Linked DNA regions of Homo sapiens: region 2 is linked to region 1. Evidence: promoter capture Hi-C in human tissues and cell types (Jung and others, 2019). All regions are on one chromosome and are shown on one strand. Each heading gives the region's core, a stretch centred on a gene start or on the middle of the fragment in contact. The rest is flanking DNA. Distances are from core to core; before and after follow the strand shown.

Evidence for each region. Contacts are between HindIII fragments. The study calls those that stand out against the background at their distance.
Region 2: a contact is called between a fragment that was not itself captured here and the fragment with the promoter of SEC61A1 in region 1, in 1 of the 25 tissues and cell types used here (dorsolateral prefrontal cortex).

Annotation. Positions count from the first base shown.
Region 1 is chr3:128,049,440-128,055,844 of GRCh38, reverse strand. It overlaps SEC61A1 (SEC61 translocon subunit alpha 1), which reads right to left and starts at 3,408. Exons shown (of 12, transcript NM_013336.4): 1 at 3,286-3,408; 2 at 2,943-3,010; 3 at 264-329; 4 at 94-172. The coding sequence starts at 3,292. It overlaps LOC102723759 (a long non-coding RNA gene), which reads left to right and starts at 3,670. Exons shown (of 4, transcript XR_007096073.1): 1 at 3,670-3,883. RefSeq lists a silencer at 3,095-3,734 and a cis regulatory region at 3,227-3,843. The HindIII fragment of the contact is 6,890 bases long and covers 1-6,287 here.
Region 2 is chr3:128,674,080-128,680,039 of GRCh38, reverse strand. It overlaps the pseudogene POU5F1P6. Among named protein-coding and RNA genes, the nearest start is that of RPN1, 26 kb to the right of the region's middle. RefSeq lists an enhancer at 4,635-4,704. The HindIII fragment of the contact is 6,212 bases long and covers 340-5,960 here.

The DNA of each region.
Region 1 (6,405 bases), core at 2,159-4,658:
TAAGTTCCATATAAAGCCAAAGCCTATTAATTTAACTAAGTGAAGCTAGGTAAGCCTACACTCTACAGAGAAAAGACAGAGCCAGAGTCCTACCTCTGTTAGAGGCTAGAATCACTCTCATCCAATAGAAAGGGTCAGCTGAATCTGAAGACATGATCCCAAACAGGGGAATCTGGGAACAGGCAAAGAGCAAAACAGTCAGCACTCCTGTTTCCAGCCACTCTTATCCCCCTCCCCAATACGAAATACAAGCCTGAGCTTACCTGGCAGCACACTAAGAAGATAAAGAGGGTGATAGCGGTCCACAGCACTTTCTCCTTAAACTGAATCTAGAGTAGGAGAGAATGAATTGAAGCAGGGAGTTACTTTGAAAAGCAAATTAATAAAAATGGACTCCAATCAGACCCCTTTCTCTAAAAATGGACTCCAACCAGACTCTTTTCTCTGTTCAGCAGAGAAGCCAAACCATGTACCAAACATAAGTACCATGTACTGCGTAACTTCCTCTGCACAGAGCACAATGCAAGGACCTACAGGCATCACCCCAGCTCACCTCACACCACAGAGCATTACCTTTATTTTACAACTGAGCCTTAGAAGAGCTAAATAATTTGTACCAAACCCCAATGCTAAAGTGAGTTTGAGTCCCAAACTGTGCTTTTAACCATTAGCATTAACAGTTAAGACTCAAGAACAAAGAATGTCACAATAGAACATGACTTGTAAAACACACGAGCAACCACTTTTCATTTGAGTTTCAGTCACAAAACCTTGTTATTCTAGAGTCAAGTAATTTGGAATTGCTCAATAGTGTATTTTCTATGAATTAAGGGTAAAACAGTGTAATAAACCATATTGGGGAAGGGCAGGAGAGTTGCATGTTTAACCTACTAGTAACATTTGTTTAAGGATTTTCACATCTTCTCAGGTACATAGGTTGCATAGGTGACAAGAATCACTGTAAAGATGACTATTAAGTATTAAGTATCATTAGAAAACCTCCCACCCAAAACCTCTGTCACTAAAGAGTAGAGTGGGAACTCTTCCAGGTTTTCTGCCTCTGAAACTGAGTGTCTTCACTAATACCTGCTGCCTACACTACATTAATGGCTTTAGAGGGCTTAACAAACATTAATTATTGTACAGACGGAAGATTCTGAGGTTGAAATACCTTGTGAGAGACTGACAGTATTAAGTGACAAAACTGTGTTCTTTAAAAACACTTCTAGGCAGGCACTGAGTCAGCATTCCTGGCCCTCTGGCCAGAACTGGAGTCACAGTCCTCTAACTATACATGCAGGCAAAGTAGGACACAGTCATACGGCCACACAACAGTGGGTGAATCAGTGTTCAGATACTCCATCCAAAGCTGGGGGCATTCACAGGACTCTTCTTCTCTTGAGAATGGTCCTCTTCCCACCTACCATCCCACCACACTAAGAAATTAGAAAGTGGCCAAGAGAAGGCAACGCCATTTCAGAGTAACCTGTCTGAAATGAATCTTGATGGGAAACAAAGAGCAGACAATTTTTTCAAAACTCCCTTTCTAATCACCAAGTCCTCTCTCCTGGTTACAATCAAATTTAACATCAAAACCCCAAAAGCTCTTTATCCAAGTCCTGTCTCCTCTGCTTCTTAGTAGCCCCTAAATCCATTCTTGCTCAGTACCACAGTTCATCCTCTGATGTGAAAAGCCTCTAAACCAACTCTAGTCCTCTCCTTTTCTTCCAAAGTGACATTCTCATGTCTGGCCCTTGTTATTCATCTCCTAATGTTCCCCACCTACAATTATGTTCTATCAATAGCAACTACATCTAATAACCTCCCATCCAAACATGCTACACTCTTGTCACCAATGCCTTTGCAAACTATATACTCCTTTTATTTGGAATTCCTTTCCGTCCCTTCAAGGAGACTTCTATTTCTCCTTCAAAACCACCATAAGACATCATGTCTCCCAGAGTTAATCCCTTCCTGAGCCACTGCTATACCTTGCACGTATTTCCCTTGTTCCGTCTACCACACTGAGTTACAAGGCCAAGGTCACATAGCTATTAAGGTGCTATGTAAAGGGTGGGACCTAGGCTTGCCTGCCTCCAGAGCCATGCCCCTTCGCTACACTGGAATTGAGGGGGTAAAGCTTTACAAATTCGTCCATTAAAAGCAGCACATGGGCATTTATATGAAACTATTTTACGTAAAAAAATGAAAGTGGATTCCAAGCACCCAAGTGTCCATGTGAATGCTTTAACAACAGTTTGAAAAATAATGTGAGGACACAAACATTTTATTCCCCACTCTCTAACCTAGGAACCTAATGAAACTTTTTTTCGTTGACAGCTGTAGTTACACTGGCAACACTCACTCCACACAATTTCTGATTCAGCACAGCTCTAAATTTAATCTTTCCTTGTTTTAATACACCGTCTGTGAAAAGCAGCAGACTTCACAAAAGAATAGCCTTTATTCCCCCTATTGTGACAGCCTACATAAAAGGTACAAAATCATTTGTAAATACTAAAGTGACAGCCCTTCCCTTTAGCAGCTGGATACAAAGGGCATCTCCTGGGAAAAAAAACCAACCCGTGATCTGCTCCCGTTGGAGGTGAAAAAGGGAGGGTAACTCAATCTGCTATCCTAACTGAGGCCTTATTCATTCATGGCCCGGATCCATTTTTGGGACAGGGCAACCGGAGGCTTTGTTCTCGGAGCAACATCCACCAAAGATGCTCCAAATAAAGCACAGTGATTTCAGTGGAAATTTCCACACAACCAGGTCACCTTTCGACAGCTCTCCGGAATAACAGAGCACAACTACACTCCAAGGGAAGAGAAGGGAGAGTTTCCATTGCCGTGCTGAAGCCATTTTTAATCATACTGTAAACTTCCAGAGTCCAGACAGTTTCCTGAAACCTTCTTTGTTGGCGATTTGGGGTACTTACCTTCCTCTCTGGCTTCTGAATTTCCGGCAGGATGACACAGAAGGGCTTGATGACTTCCAGAAATTTGACTTTGATGGGAGAAACAAAACAGGAAGAGTTGGGACACAGAGAAGTAACCTTCCGCGCTACCCAGGGACGCCTTCTGCCCACGACGAGTGAGAGCAGGGGCCAGGGGAGCCGGCCGCACCCCGGACGCGTGGGGATACTCGAGAAGGGCCGGGGGCACGGGCCGCGTTCTGCAGGGGGCCGGTCAGGGTTGGCCGGCGGGCGCCCGACCGCACGGGTGTGGGGAAGGGGGATCTGTTCCGTCCCGGCCTCAATAGGGCTTCCCTACAGGACTCACTTGCCATGGCGGCGGCTGCTCGGGCTCCGGGTCCCGCTTCAGCTCAGCTCTGCTCCGCGTGAGGCGACGCTGCCCGCGGCCCAGCGCGTTCCACTGCACAGCAGCTCCGCCGAGAGACACGTCAGTGCTAGCCCGGCGGCAAGCGGCGCGGCGCGGCGCGGGGCGGGGCCGGGGCCGGGCCTCGGATCGCTTCCGCTTCCTGCCACGCGCGCCCGCCGGCCGCCGCGCTTCGCCGCGCCGCGCCGCTTCGCCGAGACCTCAAGCCCCGGCATGCAGCGGGGCTCCTGGGGCCTGTCGGGAAGGGGCCTGGCGCGCGGGGCCCGCCGGGACTGGGGGTGTGCGGCTGCGCAGACTTGGTAACGCGAGAGCGCGCGGGGAGGGTGTGTCACGCCTCCCGAGACTGGGGCTGTGCGGCCTCACGGAGAAACTGAGGCAGGCGCGAAGCGTCGAGTGCGCGCGTGGCCCTGCAGGCAGGCGGAGACCCTGGTGGCTCCCATACACGTAACAGCACTCACTGCTCTTTGACGTTAGTGAATAGACCGTAAGCTCCCTGGAGCAGGGACCTTATCCCAGCGTCTACCGCGGCGCCCGTCACCTAGTAGGTCTCCGTCATTACCTGCTGAGTAGGGCGCGGGCTGGTGGGGCTTACCGAGCACCCTCGCTGTCTGAGTCATTAAGCAAACCCGGAGGCTTGTCGTGGGTGTGGGTCCCCTTCCATCTGAGAACGAATGGGATGAGTTTCTGGAGAGACTTGGCCGGAGAAGGGCCGGGGCAGCTCGGGAAGTAGTCTGCCTCACAGAAGAATTCAGGAAGGCCTCCTGGGAGAGTACCTTTGTGCCGAGCCTTGATAGATTCTGGCGAGAAGGAATGAGGGAACAGGTTGAGGAGACTGTTGTGGGCAAAGCATGGCGGTGTGATTGCCTAAGATCGGTGTGGGAAAGGGGGATAACGGGTAGGGCAAGGGATGCTGGGGCTGGGGGTTGGAATTTACTTTCAGGCATCTGTAGTCAGTAGGTATGATGTCATCTAAGAGAAACAGACTTAATGCTGTGAGCATTTAGCAGGGAGGAGGTGGGCACGCCTTGTGGGATCAGGCAAGGTTTCATGGAGCTAAACCTTGACCAGGACAGGTAGAAGTTGAGGGTACATATGTGGCAAGATGCTTTTTTGCTTTTAATTTAGGTGTCAACTATTTGGATTTTTCCATTCTCACCCATTTCTAGCAGATAATCAGGTTTTGTACATTCTTGGCTCAGAAAGTTGGACAGGACAGGAAGTCTTTTTTGGAATACAAACCCACTGGTGGAAAATTCAAAGGACTACTGGGAACAGGCAGGTAACTTCAGTGAAGTGGTCTAGGTGTGACATCACTTGATATCCATCCCCCACCAAAAAGGGGAAAAAGAAGACATTGACTCTTTATTCAGAGTCTGAAATGCAACCCATCTTCACTTCCAGGACCCACTGATGATCTCTTCTGGAGTTTTGGCCTGAAGCTAAAACTGGCAGCCCCTGGACTAAGTTCAGCATATAGACTAGATCCGATATTTAGCCATTATGCACCCTGCACCATATTGATGGTTAAAATGTTGAAATATTTCGAGGGTAAATAGTATAGTAATTACAATAAATATTACAATTAGTTAATAGAAATTTTAATATAAACTCATTGGTTTGTGCTAATAGTTGTAGGATGTCAGTACCATTGATAACAGGCCTCCTGTTGTTTCCACATTATGACACAATCTGGCCTGTGTCACTGCAGGGACTGCAGCCAAGTTACGTGTGTTAAATCACTGATTGCTTTAGGAGAATCACTAGTTTAAAATATTTTTATTGGACTGGGTGCAGTGGCTCACACCAGTAATCCCAGCACTTCGGGAGGCCAAGGCAAGAGGATCACTTGAGCCCAGGAGTGCAAGACCAGCCTGGGCAACATGGCAAAACCCTGTCTCTAGAAAAAAATACAGAAAAAAATTAGCTAGGCATGGTGGCGCATGCCTGTAGTCCCAGCTACTGGAAAGGCTGAGGTGGGAGGATCCCTTGAGCCTGGGAGGTCGAGGCTGCAGTGAGCTGAGATCTCACCACTGCACTTCAGCCTGGGTGACGACAGAGTGAGACTCTGTCTCAAAAAATAATAAAATATTTCTATTGTAAGCACATACATTAATTCTTCGGAAAATAGGTATGCAGTGTTTTATATTTATACATTTAAGATTTTATTATAGGATATTAGAAACATCCACCTAGAATGAAAGAGACCACAAAAATCTGGATGAATTTTCAATACTTTTAAGTATGATAAATGTAAATCTTGATATCTGCAGAAGAATAAACAAGAAATTTGTAATAATAATGAATCCCCGCCTGGAACTTCTTTTGATACTGTTTAAGAATCAGCACAAAATAAAATTTATAATTTATAAGATAAACTTTATTACATAAAATCTATAGTTTTGTAGTGAAAAAATAATTTTTTTCAACCAAAAATTTGACATTGCTAGTGACAGAAATGTTGGGTACTGAGTGCTCAGAAGTTCTATTGTTAAAAGATCAAAGTGTTAAACATATATTCATCAGAATGCTCTTAAAGCTTGTGCAAGTGAAGAAAAATTGTGATTATCGATGAGAAAAGAACTTAAAAGAATATAATCAGTTTCATAAATTAAGTATTTGAAAACTTAGAACTCCCAAAAAGGTTATCAGAGTGAGGATAAAGCAATCAAAAAGATTTAGGGCCAAGCTTGGTGGCTCATGAAATCCCAGCACTTTGGGAAGCCAAGGTGGGCAGATCACTTGAGGCCAGGAGTTCGAGACCAGCCTGGCCAACATGGTGAAATCTCGCCTCTACTAAAAATAAAAAATTAGCTGAGCATGGTGGTGCGTGCCTGTAGTCCCAACTACTCAGGAGGCTGAGACATGAGAATGGCTAGAACCCTGGGGGGTGGAGGTTGCAGTAAACCGAGATCTCATCACTGCACTCCAGCCTGGGCAACAGAGCGAGACTCTGTCTCAAAAAAAAAAAAAAAAAAAAAAAAAGATTTAGAAGGTACTGTCAGAATTTTTAGCACTATTATATAGTTAAGTATAATTGAGCATTTCACACACATTTACTAGAAC
Region 2 (5,960 bases), core at 2,196-4,695, 620 kb before region 1:
ACACACACACACGCACACACACGGGCCTCCTGTGGTCTCACTTGGTCCTCTTTGTGACAGTGCCATTGTTACCATTTACAGAGGAGGAACTGAAGCTCATGGTTGAGCCTCTCACTTGCCCACTTTGCCAAACCCTGGTAGGGATGGGATTAGAGGCTCCTTTTCTTTCGTGAAATGAGACAACGATCTGGGGGATCGTTGGAAGGATTAAAATGAGTATTCAGATTACAATGCTGGATTCTTAATAGTGTCCTCTGTTAATAATAATAATAATGTAGTAGCAACAGTCACGTAGTCTTTACAGTCACAGGTGCATGTGTGTAGATGGGGTTCTCTCTGTATTAGCCAGGCTGGTCTCCAACTCCTGGCCTCAGGCTATCTTCGCACCTCTGCCTCCCTTAGTGCTGGTATTACAGATGTGAGCCACTACACCAGCCTGCAGTTTTTACTACAACTCTGTGAGGTGATTAGTACTAGCATTCCCATTTGACAAATAAGGACAGTGAAGAAAGCAGAAGTAACTTGGCCAAGGTCACAGAACAGCCATAGCAATTCCTGGGTGGTGTGGAGTGGAAGGCTCTGGCCTTAACTGCTACACATTGTCTCTGGTAACAAGGCCCTGCCTGAAGTATATTCCGGCTTCTAGAGGTTGCAAGGAAATGGACCACTCATCAGTTCTTGCAGCCTCCTTATGATCTACAGTGGGACTTCGCAAAGGCAGGCCTAGTAGGAAAACAAAGAGAAGAGGGTTGGAAGAAGGGAAGGATTGGGGCTCAGAAATTATGAGGGAATGGACTAGAAAGGATAGAAACAAAGCTCTTGGGCAGGTGCAGTGGCTCACACCTGTAATCCCAGCACTTTGGGAGGGCAAGATGGGAGAATCAATTGAGGTCAGAAGTTCTAGGCCAGCCTGGCCAACATGGTGAAACCCCATCTCTACTAAAAATACAAAAAAAGAAAAAAGAAAAAAGAAAAAATGGGTCGGGAGCAGTGGCTCACACCTGTAATCCCAGCACTTTGGGAGGCTGAGGCGGGCGGATTACCTGAGGTCAGGAGTTTTATACCAGCCTGGCCAACATGGAGAAACCCCATCTCTACTAAAAATACAAAATTAGCCGGCCATGGTGGTGCATGCCTGTAATCCCAGCTACTCAGGAGGCTGAGTCAGGAGAATCACTTGAACCCAGGAGGTGGAGGTTGCAGTGAGCTGAGATTGCGCCATTGCACTCCAGCCTGGACAACAAGAGTAAAACTCCATCTAAAAAAAAAAAAAAAAATTAGCTGTGCTTAGTGGCACATACCTGTAATCCCAGTTACTCAGGAGGCTGAGGCAGGAGAATCGCTTGAACTAGGGGGATGGAGGTTGCAGTGAGCTGAGATCGTGCTACTCCACTCCAGCCTGGGCGACAGAGCCAGACTCTGTCTCAAAAAACAAAACAAAACAAAACAAAAATTAACTGGGCATGGTGTTGCAGGCCTGTAATCCCAGCTAATTTGGAGGCTGAGGCAGGAAAATTGCTTGAACCCGGGAGGTGGAGGTTGCAGTGAGCCGAGATCCTGCCACTGTACTCCAACGTGGGTGGCAGAGCGAGACTCCGTCTCAAAAAAAAAAAAAAGAAACAAAGCTTTTGTCCCCATCTCCACCAGAAGTGAAGAAAAGAATGGCTTCCAGCTTGAGGAATGGGGAATGGGGATGATGGTACTACACTACTACTACTACTATTAAATACTACTGCTACTGCTACAACACTACACATTCATATCTATTCTTAGAAGGTATTAATCCCAGAAATTCAGGTTGAGGTTGGGAAAAGTAGGTTCCTTATCCTTGGGAATCTGTTTACTTACCTATAAAACCAGAGTGTAGTAAATAGGAATCCCTGTCCTGGCTGCCTAGCCAGGTTGTTAGGAGGAAAGAGAGATTTGGTGTCCTATACTAGCATTCAGAATGACTTGTGATGGGACACTGTTTGCAAGGCTGGGGAAAGCAGGCTGTGATACCTACAAGTGGGAGTGTACATTTTTACAACTCCATGAGGAGGCAAGCTGGCATATCTGTTAATGTAACATTAATCCTTTGTACCAATCCTTTGATTAAGCACTTCAGGGCCAAGGAAACTATCTTACATATGTATTCCCCCATGTGCACAGACAAACGTAGAAAGAGGTACAGTTGAGGGCTGTTTGAATGGCAAAAGCATGGAAGCAAACTAATTGTTCATAAATAGGGGACTGGCTTGATTTTTGAAAAATGACACATCAAGCCTGAGCAACATGGTGAAACGCTGTCTCTACAAAAAATACAAAAATGAGCTGGGCGTGGTGGCAGGCACCTGTAGTCCCAGCTACTCAGGAGGCTGAGGCAGGAGGATCACTTGAGCTGCAGAGGCAGAGGTTGCAGTGAGTGGAGATCGCACTACTGCACTCCAACCTGGGTGACAGAGTGACACCACATCTCAAAAAAAAAAAAAAGACACATTTGTTTAACAGGAATTCTATGCAGCCCCTCCTACAAAATAAAGTAGTACTGTTGTAGAATAAGCTCCAAGATTTATCACATATAATTATAATTATGACTGTGGCTGCAAATAACAATGTAGCCTTCTATAGTGCAAATAACAATGCAAATTACATTGCAAATAACAATGTAGCCTTCTATAGTGGCTTAAACAGACAAGGGTTAATCTGTCTCAAGCAATAAGTAGCAATAAGGGCAGGCACATCTGAGTCTTGTATGGGGCATTGGTGTGTTGTCAGGAATGCAGACTCTTTTTCTTTTTAAAATTTCAAAAGCCTTAAGAAGGTCACAGTGGCACATGCCTGTAGTCCCAGCTACTCAGAAGGCTGAGGCAGGAGGATCGCTTGAGCCCAGGAGTTCCAGGCTGTAATGAGCCATGATCATGCCTGTGAATAGCCACTGCACTCCAGCCTGGGCAACATAGCAAGACCTCATTTCTAAAACAACTTTTTTTAAAATTTAAAAACTTTTTGCCTCATTTCACCAGATCCCTGGCTTGGGGAGCCTTCCTTCCCCATGGTGGGACACCTGGCTTTGGATTTCACCTTCTTGCCCCTTCCAGGTGGTGGAGGTAATGGGTCAGCGGGGCGGGAGCTGGACTTGGCTAAGCTTCCAAGGCAGGAATTGGGCCGGGTGTTGGGCCAGGCTCTGAGATGTGGGGGTTTCTCCCGTGCCCCCCACTGCATGAGTTCCGTGGGCAGATGGTATACTCTGGGTCTCCGGTTGCAGTGGGGCTAGTGCCCCAAGGTGGCTTGAAGACCTCTCAGCCTGAGGGCGAGGCAGGAGCCTGGGTGGAGAGCAACTGTGAGGGGCCTCCCTGGAGCCTTGCACTGCCCCAGCTGGTGCCATGAAGCTAGAGAAGGAGAAGCTGGAGCAAAACCTCAACGAGTCCCAGGACATCAAAGCTCTGTAATTTGCCAAGCTCCTGAAGCAGAAGAGGATCACCCTGGGATATATCCAGGCCCGTGTGGGGCTCACCCTGGGGGCTCTTTTTTTAAATGTTTATTTATTTGTTTATTTATTTTTGAGACAGGGTCTCACTCTGTTGCCCAGGCTGGAGTGCAGTGGCGTGACCTTCGCTCACCACAACCTCTTGTTGTGCCCAGGGGTGTTAGAGAGAACGCCACACTTTGAGACGATTTAAGAGTCCTTTATTAAGCCGGCGGCCAAAGAGACGGCTAACGCTCAAAATTCTCTTGGCCCCGAGGAAGGGGGTTGATTAACTTTTATACCTAGGTTTAGGAAGGGGAGGGGAACTCAAATGCAATAATTCTACAGAAGTAAAAACATGCAAGAATAAAAAAAAAATGGTTACAAAGAGATAAACAATTTAAAAGACAAATGGTTACAAGAAGAGCAACGGTACCAGGTGCAAGGCTTTAAACCTTTATTATAATTAGATATAGGGGGTATGCCGGACAGGAACTCAAGGCTTTATGTTGTTATCTCTTTGAGAAAAATCCTGGGAACTTCATACATTGTTGGTGCTAGTACCTTATCAGTTAATTGGGCTACTTTGAAATGCTGAGGATCTGCTTACACAGGTTAACTCCTTGCGGAAGGGGGTTGGGTAAGGAGCCCTTAGTATCTTGTAAATTAAGGGGTCAATTGGAGTTTGTCTGGCTTTCCCAGCTAGAGAGAGTCTTATTTACATGAGAAGCAAGGCTAGGTGATTAAAGAGACAAGCAGGATAAAATTCAAAGTAACGAGTTAGAGTAAAAACAAGGTTAGGCGTTTCACTCTGCCTCCTGGGTTCAAGCGATTCTCGTGCCTCAGCCTCCCAAGTAGCTGGGATTACATGCATGTGCCACTATGCCCAGCTAATTTTTGTATTTTTAGTAGAGACGGGGTTTCTCCATGTTACAGGCCAGGCTGGTCTTGAACTTCTGACTTCCCACCTTGGCCTCCCAAAGTGCTAGGATTACAGAAGTGAGTCACCATGCCCAGCCTCTGGGGGGTTCTATTTGGGAAGGTGTTCAGCCAAATGACCATCAGCTGCTTTGAGGCTCTGCAGCTCAGTTTCAAGAACATGTGTAAGCTGCCTCCCTTGCTGCAGAAGTGGGTGGAGGAAGCAGCCAACAATGAAGAGCTTCAGGAGATATGCAAAGCAGAGACCCTCAGGCAGGCCGAAAGAACAAGAACCCGGGCCAGTCGCGGTGGCTCACACCTGTAATCCCAGCACTTTGGGAGGCCGAGGCGGGAGGATCACGAAGTCAGGAGATCGAGACCATCCTGGCTGACAAAGTGAAACCCTGTCTCTACTAAAAATACAAAAAAAAATTAGCCGGGTGTGGTCACGGGCACCTGTAGTCCCAGCTACTCAGGAGGCTGAGGCGGGAGAATTGCCTGAACCCGGAAGGCGGAGCTTGCAGTGAGCAGAGATCGCGCCACTGCACTCCAGCCTGGGCGACAGAGCGAGACTCCATCTCAAAAAAAAAAAAAAAAAAAAAAAGAAGAAGAACCGAGTGAGAGGCAAGCTGGAGAACTTGTTCCTGCAGTGCCTGAAACCCACACTACAGCAGATTAGCCACATTGCCCAGCAGATCAGCCACATCAGCCAGTGCGCCCACAAACCCACACTGCAGCAGATCTCCAGGTTGGGCTGGAGAGGATGTGGCCCCAGTGTGGTTCTGTAACTGGCGCCAGAAGGGTAAGTGATGAAGCAATGACTATGCACTACGAGAGGATTTTCAGGCTGCTGGGTCTCCCTTATCAGGGGGCCAGTGTTCTTTCCTCCGGCCCCAGGGCCCCATTTTGATACCCCAGGCTATGGGAGCCCCCACTTCACTATGCTGCGAGGGGAAGCCTTTACCCCGTCTCTGTTGCCACTTGGCCCTGCCATGAATTGAAACTGAGGTGCCTGCCCTTCTAGGAATGGGGGACAGAGGAAGGGAAGAAGCTAGGGGAGGAGAACCTGGAGTTTGTGCCAGGGCTTTTGGGCTTAAGTTCCTCATTCACTAAGGAAGGAATTGGGCACACAAAGGGTGGGGGCAGGGGATTTTGGGACAACTGGTTGGAGGGAAGGTGAAGTTCAATGATGCTTTTGCTTTTAATCCCTACATCATGTATCACTTTGTTCTTAAAGAAACCTGGGACACAGTAAAAAATAAATAAAATAAGGCCGGGCGTGGTGGCTCACGCCTGTAATCCCAGCACTGTGGGAGGCCGAAATGGGCAGATCACGAGGTCAAAAGATTGAGATCATTCTGGCCAATATGGTGAAATCCCATCTCTACTAAAAATACAAAAATTAGCTGGGCGTGGTGCCACGTGCCTGTAGTCCCAGCTACTCAGGAGGCTGCGACAGGAGAATCACTTGAACCCAGGAAGCAGAGGTTGAGTGAGCCAAGATTGTGCCACTGCACTCCAGCGCGGTGGCTCATGCCTGTAATCCCAGCACTTTGGGAGGCCAAGGTGGGAAGATCACCTGAGGCCAGGAGTT